Linked DNA regions of Homo sapiens: all the other regions are linked to region 3. The links are contacts of gene promoters, found by promoter capture Hi-C in blood cells and fetal thymus (Javierre and others, 2016). All regions are on one chromosome and are shown on one strand. The core of a region is centred on a gene start or on the middle of the fragment in contact, and the rest is flanking DNA. Distances in the headings are between cores, read along the strand shown. Region 1 holds the start of PHKA1 (phosphorylase kinase regulatory subunit alpha 1). Region 2 overlaps NHSL2 (NHS like 2). Region 3 holds the start of RPS4X (ribosomal protein S4 X-linked). Region 4 overlaps HDAC8 (histone deacetylase 8).

Region 1 (3,212 bases), core at 579-3,078, 440 kb after region 3:
GATTAACTTAGAGAGTCATGCATTTTAGGAAAGATCCCAGGATAGGATTTTCCACTGTAACAGAACAGACTGTTCCCTCTCCCTCAAATCAGCAAGTTTCAAGTTTCCACTGCAAGAATACCACTTCAGTACAATACAGGAAAGCTTTCTGGAATATAATTTCAGAAAGATGATGAAAGAGGGAAAGGCAAAATACAGTTCTCTTAGCTTTTGGTGGGTTTCACTTCCTTCAGTCCCCACTCTGCCCCCAACCCCCAATCACACATAGCTCCAGATCTCTTTGTATTTTTATTTTGAGTACCTGCTCCAATTCATAGGCCTTTGCCTTATCCTCATCCCGGTCTGCATTCTTCCGATAGGCCAGGCCCAAACCCCACACAGCCAAGATGCTGTACACATTATCTCGGACCCAAGCATCTTTCTGATCATAGCTGGCTGGAAGCAAGCCAGTCACTGGATTCTGCAAGGTCAAGAAAAAGAGGGCAGGAAGGTAACCATAGGTGTTAACATCAGGAAACAGAATCTTCCAAATGGGTTTTTTAGGGACTTTGGTCTTTCTTCTACTTCTCCACTCTTGAGTTTTATAACCTCCTCTTCTTCTGACCTATTGCAGGCAAATGCTATCTTCCCACCTTCCCAAGCTTTACTGAGCTATATTCAACACATTAAAAATTGTGTATATTTAGGGAGTACAACATGATGATTTATGTATTCATTGGAAAATTACCAAAATGACGTTTATTAACACATCTATTACCTCACAGCTACCTTTTTTTTTGGTGTGGTGAGAATACTTAAGATCTACTCTCTTAGTAAATTTCAAGTATACAGTACAGTATGATTAACTACAGTCACCATGCTGCTGTACATCAGATCCCCAGAACTTACTCATCTTATAACTGAAACTTTGTGCCCTTTGCAAATACTATCTTGAATAAGGGGTAAGCGGTGGCTGAAGCCTTTCGAGTCTGAAATGTGGGTATTATTAAAGGCACAATTAAAGGTATTATTAAGTGCATTTATAATGGGTATTATTAAAAGAAAGTTTTACCTTTCTAGTTAGAATGAACTAGCGAACTAGCAATGAAAAACCAGCAGAAAAAATATATAATTAACAGGGGCGGGAGAACCTGCTACAGACAGATACAGATACACACACAAACACACACGCGGAGTTCATGCAAGGTCTCCGTCACACACACACACACACACACACACACACACCCACACACGCACGCACGCACGGAGTTCATCCAAGGTCTCCGTCCAAGCTATGACAAGCTACATCCTCGCTCGGTGATTACGAGAGACACCCCTGCAGTTACCTGATGGCACAGGATGGTCTGTTGCACCAGTCGAGCGTAGCCGTCCAGCCGGACCCCGGAGTTACTCCGGCTCCTCATGGCGACACGTTACTAATTGTCCTCTGAGAAATAGCCCGGGTGCCACCGGAGCCTTCGGTCCCTAAGGAACAAGTATCCAACGCTGCTCCACCCTCGTGGTGGGACGCCTGAACACCAGGCCCCGCAGAGCCCTCCCACCGCTCAGGCCTGGCGCCGCGGATTCCGCGTACCTCTCCGGACTCCGGCGGCCTCAGGGGCCCACCACGCGCCAGCGCTAGCACTGGCTTCCCGCGGTCTAGAGCCCCGCCGCAGCGCCCCAGGCGCCGCTCCTGCCCCCTTAGTCCAGTCCGGCCTCCGCGTGTGACTCCTGCATCCTCCCCTCAACCCCGGGAGACCGCCGCGGCCCACAGCCTCCCGCCCGGCCGCCGCCAACAGGTCAACGACCGCTGCGCCGCCTCCACCTTGCGGGAGACGCGAGCGGGAGGCGGGGCGGGCGCGACTGGTTCTGGCAGCTGCGCGCTGCGACCCCGGGGCTCGCCCGCCCCGGGGCCGAGAATGTGTCACCGTAGGCAATGTGCTTTCCGAGGTTTATTTTCGAAACACCTCAGATCACTATTTCAGTTTTCCACACTTGCTGTGCACACAGGATGTTGGGGAGGCTCTCCTTCGTTCTACAGGACTAGTTTTATAAAGGAACCTACAGTGAACTTCAAAACTGAAAGACACGCTTGTGTTCCAGGTCTGAAGACTTGGATTTCTGGGTCTTTATTGTATTTTAGATTTTGACTTTAAAAGCTCAGATTACACGCCTCACTTCCAGCCAGACCAACCAAACAGGAACTCCCTAGGGTACTTTACTCCTTAGTAACTGGCGAGTCTGCGGGCTTGGGAGGGAGGAGGCAGTGGTGCACTCTGAGGAAGCCAGTGCGGGGAACAGCTGGGAGCTGGCAGCCCCAGAAGGCGGCGTTGGCAGGACTCGAGCTGGAAGAGATCCTATAACTGCTTTGGATGGCTCCCTCGTGCGCACGTAGGTCACAAGGCTGAGGCAACAAATATTCAGCTGAAAATAAAGTGGAGAAGGAAGGCTGCGTAAGAAGCTTGGAGGCCGGGCGCGGTGGCTCACTCCTGTAATCCCAGCACTTTGGGAGGCTGAGGAGGGCAGATCACCTGAAGTCAAGAGTCCGAGACCAGCCTGGCCAACATGGCGGAACCCCATCTCTACTAAAAATACAAAATTAGCCCGGCATGGTGGCGCGCGCCTGTAATCCCAGCTACTCGGGAGGCTGAGGCGGGAAAATCGCTTGAACCCAGGAGGCAGAGGTTGCAGTGAGCCAAGATCGTGCCACTGCACTCTAGCCCAGGCGACAGAGTAAGACTCCGTCTCAAAAAAAATAAAATAAAAATAAAATAATAAAAGCAGCTTGTAGTGGCCGGGTGCGGTGGCTCACGCCTGTAATCCCAGCACTTTGGGAGCCTGAAGTGGGCGGATCACTTGAGGTCAGGAGTTCAAGACCAGCCTGGCCAACATGGAGGAAACCCCCCCCCCCGCTTCCCCCGCCGCCGATACAAATACAAAAATTAGCCGGGCGTGGTGGGGCGCTCCTGTAGTCCCAGCTACTCGGGAAGCTGAGGCAGGATAATCGCTTGAACCCTGGAAGTGGAGGTTGCAGTGAGCCAAGATCGCGTCACTGCACTCCAGCCTGGGAGACAAGAGCGAAACTCCGTTTCAAAAAAAGAAAAAAAAAAGGCAGCAGCTTGCAGATAACGCTGCTTACTGGCCTCGTGGAATCAGTCTGCAACCCTTGGGGCGGCCCGGCTTGGACCCCAGTGCCTTTGCTCCGTTCATCTCCGGCTCCTCCCTCCATCCCC
Region 2 (3,721 bases), core at 841-3,340, 260 kb before region 3:
ATTTCAGCATCCATGTGTTCATTGCTAGTATATAGAAATACAATTTATTTTTGCAAGCTTATCTTGTATCCTGCAACCTTGCTAAGCTCACTTATTAGTTCTAGGAATTGTCTTGTAGATTCCTTGGGATTTTCTATGTAGACTATAATGCCGTCTCCAAATAGGAGCAGTTTTATTTATTCTTTTATAATCTACATGTTTTATCTTTTCTTTTTTCTTCTTTTTTTTTTTTTGCCTTATTACACTGGTTAGAACTTCCAACACTATGTTGAATTAAGGTGGTGAGAGCAGAGATCCTTGCCTTGTTTCCAATCTGAGGGGGAAAGCATTTAGTCTTTCAAGCATTGTGTTTAATGTTAGGTATAAGTCTAATATTGCTTGATCCAGAAAAAAATATATATATATTTGGTGTAAGTTGTATGTAGATGCTCAAGTTAAGGAAGTTCCCTTTTTGCCCTATTTCTCAGAGTTTTTTTTAACTTATAATAAGTGTTAGATTTTATCAAATGCTTTTTCTGCATTGATTAATATGATCATGTGATTTCTATTAGTTTGTTACACTGATTGTGTAGAATTAGCATACAATTCTTTAAACATTTGGTAGAATTCTCCAGTGAAACCATCTGGACCTGGAGATTTTAAAGGGAGTAGTTTTAAAATTATGAATTTCATGTTTTTAATAGTTATAGGGCTATTCAAATCATCTATTTCATATTTGGTAGATTTGGGAAGTTTATATTTTTCAAGAAATTGGTCTGTTTCATCAAAGTTGTCAAAGCATGTAGCATTGTTCATAGTATTCCCTTATTACCCATTTGATGTCTGAAGGCTCTGTAGTGATATTCATTTCCTTCCTGATATGAGCAATTTGTATGTCTTGCTAGAGGTTTGTCAATCTTACTGATCTTTTCAAAGAAGCAGCTCTTTATTTCATTGATTTTCTCTATTTTTCTATTTTCAATTCTGCTTATTTATGCTGTTATTTTTATTATTTTCTTCCTTCTGTTTGCTTTGGCTTTATTTTGCTCTCCTTGTTCTAGTTACTTGAGGTAGGAACTTAGATGATTGATTTGAGACCTTTTTTCTTTTATAGTATAAGCATTTGGAGCTATAAACTTCTTTTTAAGCATTGCTTTAGTTGCATCTCATAAATTTTTCTATGTTGTATTTTCATTTTGATTCAGTTCAATGTATTTTTAAAATTTATCTTGAAATTTAAATTTTCATATTTGACCCATGGGTTATTTTAAAGTGTGTTGTTTATTTTTCAAGTTTTAGATATTTTCTTATCTTTCTGTTATTGATTTCCAATTTGGTCACAGAATACATTTCATTTGATTTCAATTATTTTAAATTTGTTGACATTTGTTTTATGACACAGGATATGTCTAACATGTTTTGTATTCCATGGGCACTTGAAAAGGATGTGTACTCTTCTGCTGTTGGATGAGATGTTCTATAAATGTCAAATCAAATCCTGTTGTTTGAGGGTGTTGTTGAGTTCCTATATACCCTTGCTGATTTTCTATCTAGTAGGTCTATCCCAGATGCCTGCTCAGCCTTCTCTGACTTCACCCCAGTGGGGAAATTTGGGGCACCTGGTTATAGCTTAGCAAGGGTGAAAAGCTATGTTTTCAACCCCTCCTTTGCTGGTGGGGTTGGGAACGGGACCACATATTTTTTTCTGTGGTATTTGGCTAAAGAATTAGTGTATAAAAATTTCTGTCTTGGTAAGAGAGCATGATTTTTAAAAAATCTGCCCCTGTTGGTATTTTCAGTTTGCAGACTTTTTCAGCTTCAACTCTGGGATATATGAGGCAAAACAAAAATCCAGGGAACTCACCACATGCCGTTCCTTGAGTCCTGAGGTCTCTTGCAGGTGTACATTCTTCTCTCCACCTCCTCTCCAGTCTTTTTGTGTTCATTTTATATATAATGCTCACGGTTTTTTGTTGTGCTTTAGAGGGAGGACCAGGGAAAAGTATGTCATTCCATCTTCCCAGAAGCAGAAGTCCTAACTTATTCTTTTAAAATGTTATGTAACTTTGCAGAGTATGACTTTTATCAGGATTTATTTAACTATTCACCCATTGATGAACTTTTAGGTTGTTTCTTAATTGTGGTGGCTAACACAATCTTTCAATAAACATCCATTCAATAAACATTTGTGTACACGTGCAGGAGTTTCTTCATGATAGATGCTAAGTGGCGTTGCTGGGTAATAGGGGATGCACATTTTCCATGTTAATGGGTGTTGTCCAATTTCTACCCATAATGGCTGTGCTCCACCCAGCAGTGTATGAGAGTAGCAGTTTTGCTCAACTTCTTGACAACACTTGATAATAGTCAGACTTTGAGTTCCGAATGTAATGAGTGAAAGATGATATCTGGTGGTTGTTATCATTTGCCTTTCCTTGATTCCCAGAGGCTGAATATCTTTTCAAATGTCTGTTGGCCATCTGTAACTCTCCTTTTGAATTACCTGTCCATATACTTTGCCCATATTTATTTTGAGTTGTTTACCTTTTTATTGATTTACAGAAATTCTCTATATATTTTTATTGTTCTTTGTCTAATACATACATTTCAAATATATTTCCCCAGTTTATTATTTGTCTTTTAACTTTATTGATGGTGTCTTTTGCCTAAAAAAAAATTATTCTTTTGTGTAGATTCAAATTTGTCAACCACTCCCTCCTGGCTTTTGGGTTGTGTTTGTGTGTTGTTTAAAATGACTTTCTCCATACCAAAGTCACAAATATATAAATCTCTATTTTTCCCATTACAGGTTTCTATTCTTTTTTATATTTAGTTGTTTGAGCTATGTGGAATATGTGTGTGTATAGTATGAGGTAGGGATCTCATTTAATTTTTATCAAATGGAAAGCTAGTTACTTCAGCACTATTCGTTGAATAGTCCATTCTTTCACCACTGACTTATAAATGCAGCTTTTATTATTTTATTTAACACCTTTACATGAGTTGGCTTGAGAGCTCTCTGTTCTCTTTCACTCATTTGTCTACTTCTGTGCCAATGCCACACCCTGTTAATTACTGTAGATTTGATACCTTGTATAATGTCATCCTTCATTTGTTCTTTTCCCCAAAAAAATTGTTTTGGCTCTTCTTATACATATTCTTTTTCACATGGATTTTAGAATCAGTTTGTCAGGTTCTGTGAAAAATTCCTCTGGAGATTTGATTGAAATAGCAATGAGATTATAGATTAATTTAGGGAGACATCTTTTCTCCTTTTCTCCACACAACTTTTTCTCCTTCAGAAAGACCACTGGGGCCTGCACGAAAGATGTTCAGGGGTCAAAGAACCCACATAACCCATCCCCAACACACACACACACAAACACACACACAGAGACACACACATTTGTGTCTGTGTATTTGTGAGGACCTACACTTCAGGCTCTGAGGGTAAATATTTATTATAAACAGAGGCTCTGGACACTTGCTCTGCTGTTCAGTGGTACTTCCAAAGTAGGGGCAACTCTTCCTTTTCCTGATCACAAACAAACCAACCCACCAAAACTCTGGCTTGATTACATACCTTGTTGAACTTCACAGAAGGGAGTGAAGAGTGGACCAAGTAGAGAAGCAGCATATGGTAACATTAGGAGCCAGTGGGGCTGTGCTGTTTTATCCAGGAGAGCCCAGGGTGACAGCAAGTTATCATGAATGGTGGAGGATGGGAAGTACCAGAAATTAG
Region 3 (3,449 bases), core at 241-2,740:
TTCACTAAAGCACTCAAACCTACCTCCTAGTCCACCAGATCCACTAACTGAACACCAAGACCGTCCATATTACACCCAACTTGGACTTTTACACAGGAGGTGTAAAAAGCATCCAAAACTATTTCATACCTTAAAGTTTTATAGCATCTTCCCTGTCAGAGGACCAGGATCATTAAGAACATGAATCCTGAGTCCATGTAAATGTACTATGTGGTATGTGGAATAAATGAGGCACAAAAATATTAAATCGATTGGAAGTGGAGGACAGCTAGATAGTATAGCTCCTTCAAGGGCAGAGGAAGCCAAGAATAGATATTCCTCCCCTAGCCTGGTCCCCAAATGAGTCCTGGGAGACACTTAAAAACAGTGGCCACGGAAATATTTATATAAGATACTTACAAACACACCGGTCAATTTATCCAGCATCCAATGCTTTGGAGCTGCCACCCGCTTCAGATGCTTCTTGGGACCACGAGCCTGAAAGTTTTAGATTGCAATGCTGTTAATCAGGTTTCAGAACAGCTTATAAAACCTAGTGTGAAACTAAACTCTTAGTTTAGTTTCATCTTCAGCAAAATGTGGACAATATTAAAGTATAGTGTTCCGATAAAACAGAAACAAACACAGTTATTTAACAAACACCGTGAGATCCATAAGCTGCAACAAGCCTTCTTATTGTAACAGAGAATATTCTTGGTTACTATGTTTCAGAACGTTTACTGATTACTATCTTTCAGAACCTTGCTAAAGTGTTTCCATGTTACTGTTTGAAACTGTATCTGCTTAGAGGTTAGGGTCTTTCAAGAACACCATACTAGTGAAACGCACAGCAACAGAAATGAGCCAGGAGTCTACCTGTGTTTCTAAAGTTTTCACAATTTATTACCGTCTGTTTTTGACACGTATGGAACAAGATTCTGACATCCGCACAAACACATGTGCTGCTCCTTCGTACACTAAAGCCAAAAGCTGACACCAATTTTACTTTAAAAAGAGTAAGGAAGCCTTTTTAATGCTGTGTCCAGATGCTTACCGGCCACGTATGGTAAAGTCAGGCCGTGCCAAAAAGGCAATGACAAAGAAAACCTTTCTCCGCCGGGCACCCCCAGCGCCCACCAACCTCGGGCTCGCAGTCTGAGCTCCTGGCCCAGCCGCGGCTCCGGCCCGGGAGGAAAAGCAGCTTCTCCCGGGATCAGGACGTATGGCCGGGTCAGAAACCGAGGCCTTCCCAACAGCAGCACCAGATCTGCGCCTCCCCAACCCTAGGCCAGCGTTCGCCCTTCGCCCTGGAGCCCGTCCCGGCCTACCACGGAGGCCGTGATCCCTTCGCCTCTGCCCGGCCATCCCCAGTAGGAATCCCGAAACCTCGGGCAGCCCCGGCCGGGGGAGGATGGAGGCGGATACGTCCTAAGAGCTCGCTAACTAAACGGCTTACCATGGCTGCGTTAGGCAAGGAAAGAGGACCTCCGTCTTCCGGTGCGCGTAGAAATTGGGGCTGGAGACTGCGCGCGCCGGATTTTCAGCTGCTCCGCCCAGCTCAGCCCTTTGCTGGCGCGCCGGGACTCTTTCTTGCCATCTGCTGGTGGGAGGTCAGAAGTCCCGAGTTGAGGAACCGCCGCGGAAAGAGGGTGTCTCCTAAGGGCGATTTCCTCCCTCCCCTTTTTCCGCCCTTCCTCCTCCCATATTTGCTGAGCGCCTCTTGTGTGCCTTATTCTGTGCTAGGTGCTGGGAATACAAAGATGAGCTACACAACATCCCTGGCCTCAAGGAGAGTTCAAAGTGAGCTTACTTCCAGTCTCACGTACAGATGATTCTACGCCTGTAATCCCAGCACTTTGGGAGGCCGAGGCGGGCGGATCATGAGGTCAGGAGATCGAGACCATCCTGGCTAACACAGTGAAACCCCGTCTATACTAAAAAAAAATACAAAAAAATTAGCCGGGCATAGTGGCGGGCGCCTGTAGTCCCAGCTACTCGGGAAGCTGAGGCAGGAGAATGGCGTGAACCCCGGAGGTGGAGCTTGCAGTGAGCCGAGATCGCGCCACTGCACTCCAGCCTGGGCGACAGAGCGAGACTCCGTCTCAAAAACAAAACAAAACAAAACAAAACAAAGAACTTGTATATAATCAATAGAATACATTTTAATAAATATTTAATGTTATTTCTTAAACGTATTTTGTCTGTCCCTTTTTTGTGTTCCCTTGAGCCAGCCAGGCAGCCCATACTGAGTTGGGAAGAGCCAACAACGTTTTTAACCCCCTCTTGCTTCTCTGCTTGAACTCTGACATCCTCCCCCTTGCTTCCTGTACAACGCATTTGGCACTTATAGAGACTCAGGGAGGAGAGAGGATATTAGAAATCGTCTGGTTATATCTAACTAAAATGTAGATCTGATCCTGCTTCGAAACTGCCCTTGGCCCTCTGTTTCCTGCCGTAAGGGAGCAGGTCTGAACTTTATCTGGCTCCATTGCTCTCTCTCCCCAATCCCAAACTTCAAAGCTCAAGCCCCACCAAGCTAGTTTGTTCCGAGGGAGTCAGCTCTTTTTGTTTGTTTGTTTGGGAGACAGGGTCTCACTCTGTCACCCAGGCTGTAGTGCATGGCTCACTGCAGCCTCGACAGACAGCCCGGGCTCAAGCGATCCTCTCACTTCAGCCCCCACGAGTAGCTGGGACAACAGGCGCACGCCACTGCACCCAACTAATTTTTTGTAGTTTTATTTTTTTGTAGAGACGGGGTTTCGCCATGTTACCTAGGCTGGTCTCAAACTCCTGGACTCAAGCGATCCGCCCGCCTCGACCTCCCAAAGTGCTGGGATTACAGGCCTGAGCCACTGCGCCTGGCTAGAGTCAGCTCTTTCAAGACTGCTTGTGGACTCGATTCCTTAGCTTGGAACTGCCACAAACAGCCAAACCCCCTTCCTGGGTACCACCTAATCCCACACCTCAGCCTTGGAAATGCACAGTTCAAGTCCCTCTGGTTCTGTGGGCTCGTGGTCCCCTCAGTCAGGGTAAATCCCTCATTCTTGCCCCAGAGGCTTGTGTTCAAACTTGGTGAGGGCACACAGCACATTAGGTAGCAAGGACAAATTTAGTTACCTGGCCTCCACCAAACTGAGCACCTCCAGGATGGAGCCTGCCCTAATTCATCTGGGCAGGCCCCTTGCCACTGAACAGAGAGCTCGGCACTGTGTCCAGCACTTGATAAATACTTGTTGAATGAATAAACGGAGTCAGCATCCCACTTATTGTGCCAAGTCCTACTGTACTATCCCTGAGAGCATCCAGCCTGTGCCTGAATTCTTCCCACCATGAGATCAAGCTCCTAACTCATGAGGTTCCATTTCACAAGTCTCTATCTGTACCATCCACTTTACCCCTCAGCAGTCTGCAGAGGAGCAAGAGAGGGAAACATTGTTGGCTCTTCTCAAGCAGACAGTATTAACCAAGCA
Region 4 (3,593 bases), core at 611-3,110, 290 kb after region 3:
GGCACACAACTGTAATCCCAGCACTTTGGGAGGGCAAAGTGGGCTGATTGCTTGAGCCCAGGAGTTAGAGACCAGCCTGGACAACATGGCAAGACCCCATCTCTACAAAAAAAGCCAGGTGTGGTGGTATGTGCCTGTAGTCCCAGCTACTCAGGAGGCTGATGTGGGAGGATTGCTTGACCTTTGGGGAGCAGAGGTTGCAGTGAGCCAAGACCGTGCAACTGCACTCCAGCCTGGGCGACAGAGCAAGACCCTGTCTCATAAGTAAATAATAAATAAATAAATAAAAACAAAAAGCTTTTGCACAGAAGAAAAACAGTAAAACAATAGGATAATATTCTAAGGAGTAGATTCACCATTCCTTTATTGCTAGGCATTCATGTTATTTTAGTTTTTAAAATTTTATAAATAACACTGATAAATACCTTCATGAAAATAGTTTGTTTCCCATATTTAAAAAAAAAATTAGGCCACATTCCCAGAAGTAAGATTACCTGATCAAAGGGCATTAATACACATTGGCTACCAAAATGCTTTCTTCCAAACCACACTCACTAGGAAACTGAGTACCATCTTTTTCAATTCTGTTAAATTTAGGCTTAAAAAGTGGTGGCTCATGCCTGTAATCCCAGCACCTTGGGAGGCCGAGGCAGGCAGATCATGAGGTCAGGAGTTCGAGACCAGCCTGACCAACACGGTGAAACCCCGTCTCTACTAAAAATAAAAAAATTAGCCGGGCATGGTGGCACGCGCCTGTAATCCCAGCTACTCAAGAGGCTGAGGCAGGAGAATCGCTTGAACCCGGGAGGCAGAGGATGCAGTGAGCCGAGATCACACCATTGCACTCCAGCCTGGATGACAGAGCCGAGATTCTGTCTCAAAAAAAAGAGGCTTACCTAATGGTTTTAATTTACATTTCTTTGATTAGTAGTGATGAACATTTTCCAATGTTTTCCAGTTGTCCTTAAACTCCTTTGTAAATTGTCTATTCGTGTTCTTTGTGCAGATTTCTTCTTATACATTATATTGTAGGAGTGGGTTAGATAATACAAGCCTATTACACTTTGTCATATTTATGATACATAGGCTTTTTCAGTCTGTGTTTAGATTTTGAAAATAGCCAAAAAACCTTTTAAAAGTTATTTTGGTTTTAAAATTTTGTACAGTCGGGTTTGATCTTTTCCTTTGTGATTTTAAAAAATTACTTTCTAAGCTTAGAAAATTCTTCCCCTTTAGAAGCTTGATAAATATCCATTCACTCTAGTGTTTAAAATTTGCTTTTTTAAATATTTAACTTTTCAATCTAGCTGTCACTCATTTTAGTTTATTACAGTAGATGAGGGTATAATGGTACAAGCTGTCACAATACCATTCATTTACTCAACAGACCTTTCAACTCCCATTCACTTGCAATGCATCCTTTGTAATAGATTAAATTCTATATAATTGGTCTCTTTGTTGGGGTGGGGGGTGTACTATAACCTATCTGTCTAATTTTTGTACCAGTGTTTTCATTACTGTAGTTTTGGATGCTTAATATCTAATAGTATTAGTCCTTCGTTACTCTTCTTTTGTAGAATATTCTTTGAAAATCATCCTTTTTTAGCTTTCAAATGCAATTATTTGCTGTCTTACTCCTAAGATATAAATTTCTTGCAGGTAGAATTGGTTTATTTCCTTAGAATAGATTGCCAAGAATATTGTTACTGGCCCAACTGGTATGAACATTTTTTCCCATTCTTAACACTTCCAAGGTTTTCAAAAGGGGTTGTATTAATTTCACTGTAATCCTTCTACCACCTGGATATTTTGAAATAAAGAATCTTTTTCAAACTTGGTAGGGGAAACAATATATCTTGCTTCAATTTCTATATCTCTGCTTACTGGTGATGATAAACATACATTTGACATGTAGTAGGTGCCTAATCAATGCTTGTTCAATGAATAAATGGCATGTATGAATCTGTACATATATTTGCAGATGGGAAGTTTAAGCAAATATTGTGATTATAATAGGTAAATGTTGGCTAGATGTAAGTTTGTGGCCTAAATGCCTGTAGTCCATCTACAGAGAGGTTCTAGTTATGCCAAGAACACCTTGGAATTCAGACCTAAACTGGGGCAATCTCTAGAGACTCTGTAATTTATATTTATCACAGGCATGTCCGTTTCCATGCAGGATCAGCTGAAAGATGTCTACAACAGTTAAGGCGATATATGTGGGTATCCCCATGTCTGTGTGCAGCCCAGAAGCAGTCGTGATTGGGTCAAGACAGAGTGTACTTCCTTTGGCAGCAAAACAGTAATAAGAAGCAGAGTACTCCACTGGAAAATGACCCAGGCCCTAGTAGGCCTTCTGCAGTTAATTTAATTGCATAATAAACTGGATGTCATTCATAGAAGCAAGCCTTTTCTATGAAGCCACACTACTTTTCTTCTCAACTTGCCAAGCCCAAGAGGACCTAGAAGTCTTTCGTTCAGAGAAGCTTAGCTTTCTCCTTTCACTCTGCACCTGGGAGGGGAGAGGGTCATTTTTTTTCTCCTAGCAGTCATTGTCTTTATTTTGAATTTAAAAAAAAGGCAGGCGGTGTGCAGTGGCTGTCATGTGTAATGCCAGCACTTTGGGAGGCCAAGGTGGGAGGATCACTTGAGGCCAGGAATTTGAGACCAGCCTGGGCAACATAGCAAGACCTCATCTCTACAAAAAATACAAAAATTATCCAAGCATGGTGGCACGTGCCTGTAGTCCTAGCTACCTAGAAGGCTGAGGTGGGCAGATCCCTTGAACCCAGGAGTTCGAGACTGCAGTGAGCTATGATTGCACCACTGCACTCCAGCCTTGGTGACAGAGAGAGACTCTGTCTCGAAAAAAACAAAACAAGAAAGAAAGAAAGAGGCCAGGTGTGGTGGCACATACCTGTAATGCCAGCACCTTGGGAGGCTGAGGATGGAGGATCCCTTGAGCCCAGGAGTTCAAGATCAGCCTGGGCAACATAGGGAGACATTGTCTTTATTAAAAAACAAAAAACAAAAAACAAACAAACAAACAAACAAAGCAAGAAAAAAGCAAGCAGGCAAGCAAGCAAAAGCTAACAAAAGGCAGCTTGTCTCTGTTTTTAAAACCATGTAAGACTCATTACTAAAACATTGGTTTCCTTTGCTGTGTTGCCCAACTAGTAAATTCTAGCAGTAAACTTTTTCAAGGACTTCCTTGGCCACAAAATCTGTCAATTTGATGGAAAAAATTCTGTTATTATCTTAACCTGCATATGCTGAAGTTGTGCTGTGTTTTATTCTGAAAAACAAAGTGTTGTTTTCTCTTGACCTAAGAGCACCTAAGGTCACGGTTGATTGCATGAACAATTGATTCCTGAGTGAGGCATTGGCAGTTACTACCACAGTGGCTTCATTTCTCTCAGACAGAGGATCGATAAATTCAGAGTTTAAAAAATCCTTCTTCTTCAATGTGGATTAAGTACTACAGAAATATCAAACAAAGTCCCAAATGCTGAAGGAGGGCCCAGCAATCCTTCTCAGACAGACTACTGCAGTTTGACATGTTAACATAAAACTCTAGAAGGTGGCCAGGCGCG

Evidence for each region. Contacts are between HindIII fragments. The CHiCAGO score rates a contact against its expected background, and 5 or more counts as called.
Region 1: a contact is called between the fragment with the promoter of PHKA1 here and the fragment with the promoter of RPS4X in region 3, in 1 of 17 cell types (M1 macrophages). The highest score is 9.8, in M1 macrophages.
Region 2: a fragment that was not itself captured here is called in contact with the fragment with the promoter of RPS4X in region 3 in 1 of 17 cell types (neutrophils); the score reaches 5.3 in neutrophils.
Region 4: a fragment that was not itself captured here is called in contact with the fragment with the promoter of RPS4X in region 3 in 2 of 17 cell types (endothelial precursors and erythroblasts); the score reaches 5.3 in endothelial precursors.

Annotation. Positions count from the first base shown.
Region 1 is chrX:72,712,478-72,715,689 of GRCh38, forward strand. It overlaps PHKA1 (phosphorylase kinase regulatory subunit alpha 1), which reads right to left and starts at 1,829. Exons shown (of 32, transcript NM_002637.4): 1 at 1,326-1,829; 2 at 302-460. The coding sequence starts at 1,403. RefSeq lists enhancers at 1,133-2,117, 2,118-3,106 and a silencer at 1,810-1,959. The HindIII fragment of the contact is 1,799 bases long and covers 640-2,438 here.
Region 2 is chrX:72,013,317-72,017,037 of GRCh38, forward strand. All of the region lies in intron 1 of NHSL2 (NHS like 2), which reads left to right. Among named protein-coding and RNA genes, the nearest start is that of NHSL2, 100 kb to the left of the region's middle. The HindIII fragment of the contact is 4,070 bases long and covers 56-3,721 here.
Region 3 is chrX:72,275,758-72,279,206 of GRCh38, forward strand. It overlaps RPS4X (ribosomal protein S4 X-linked), which reads right to left and starts at 1,491. Exons shown (of 7, transcript NM_001007.5): 1 at 1,436-1,491; 2 at 400-477. The coding sequence starts at 1,438. RefSeq lists enhancers at 991-1,070, 1,241-1,310. The HindIII fragment of the contact is 11,342 bases long and covers 1-3,449 here.
Region 4 is chrX:72,563,282-72,566,874 of GRCh38, forward strand. The region is part of intron 4 of HDAC8 (histone deacetylase 8); the gene reads right to left. Among named protein-coding and RNA genes, the nearest start is that of HDAC8, 7.8 kb to the right of the region's middle. The HindIII fragment of the contact is 1,247 bases long and covers 1,238-2,484 here.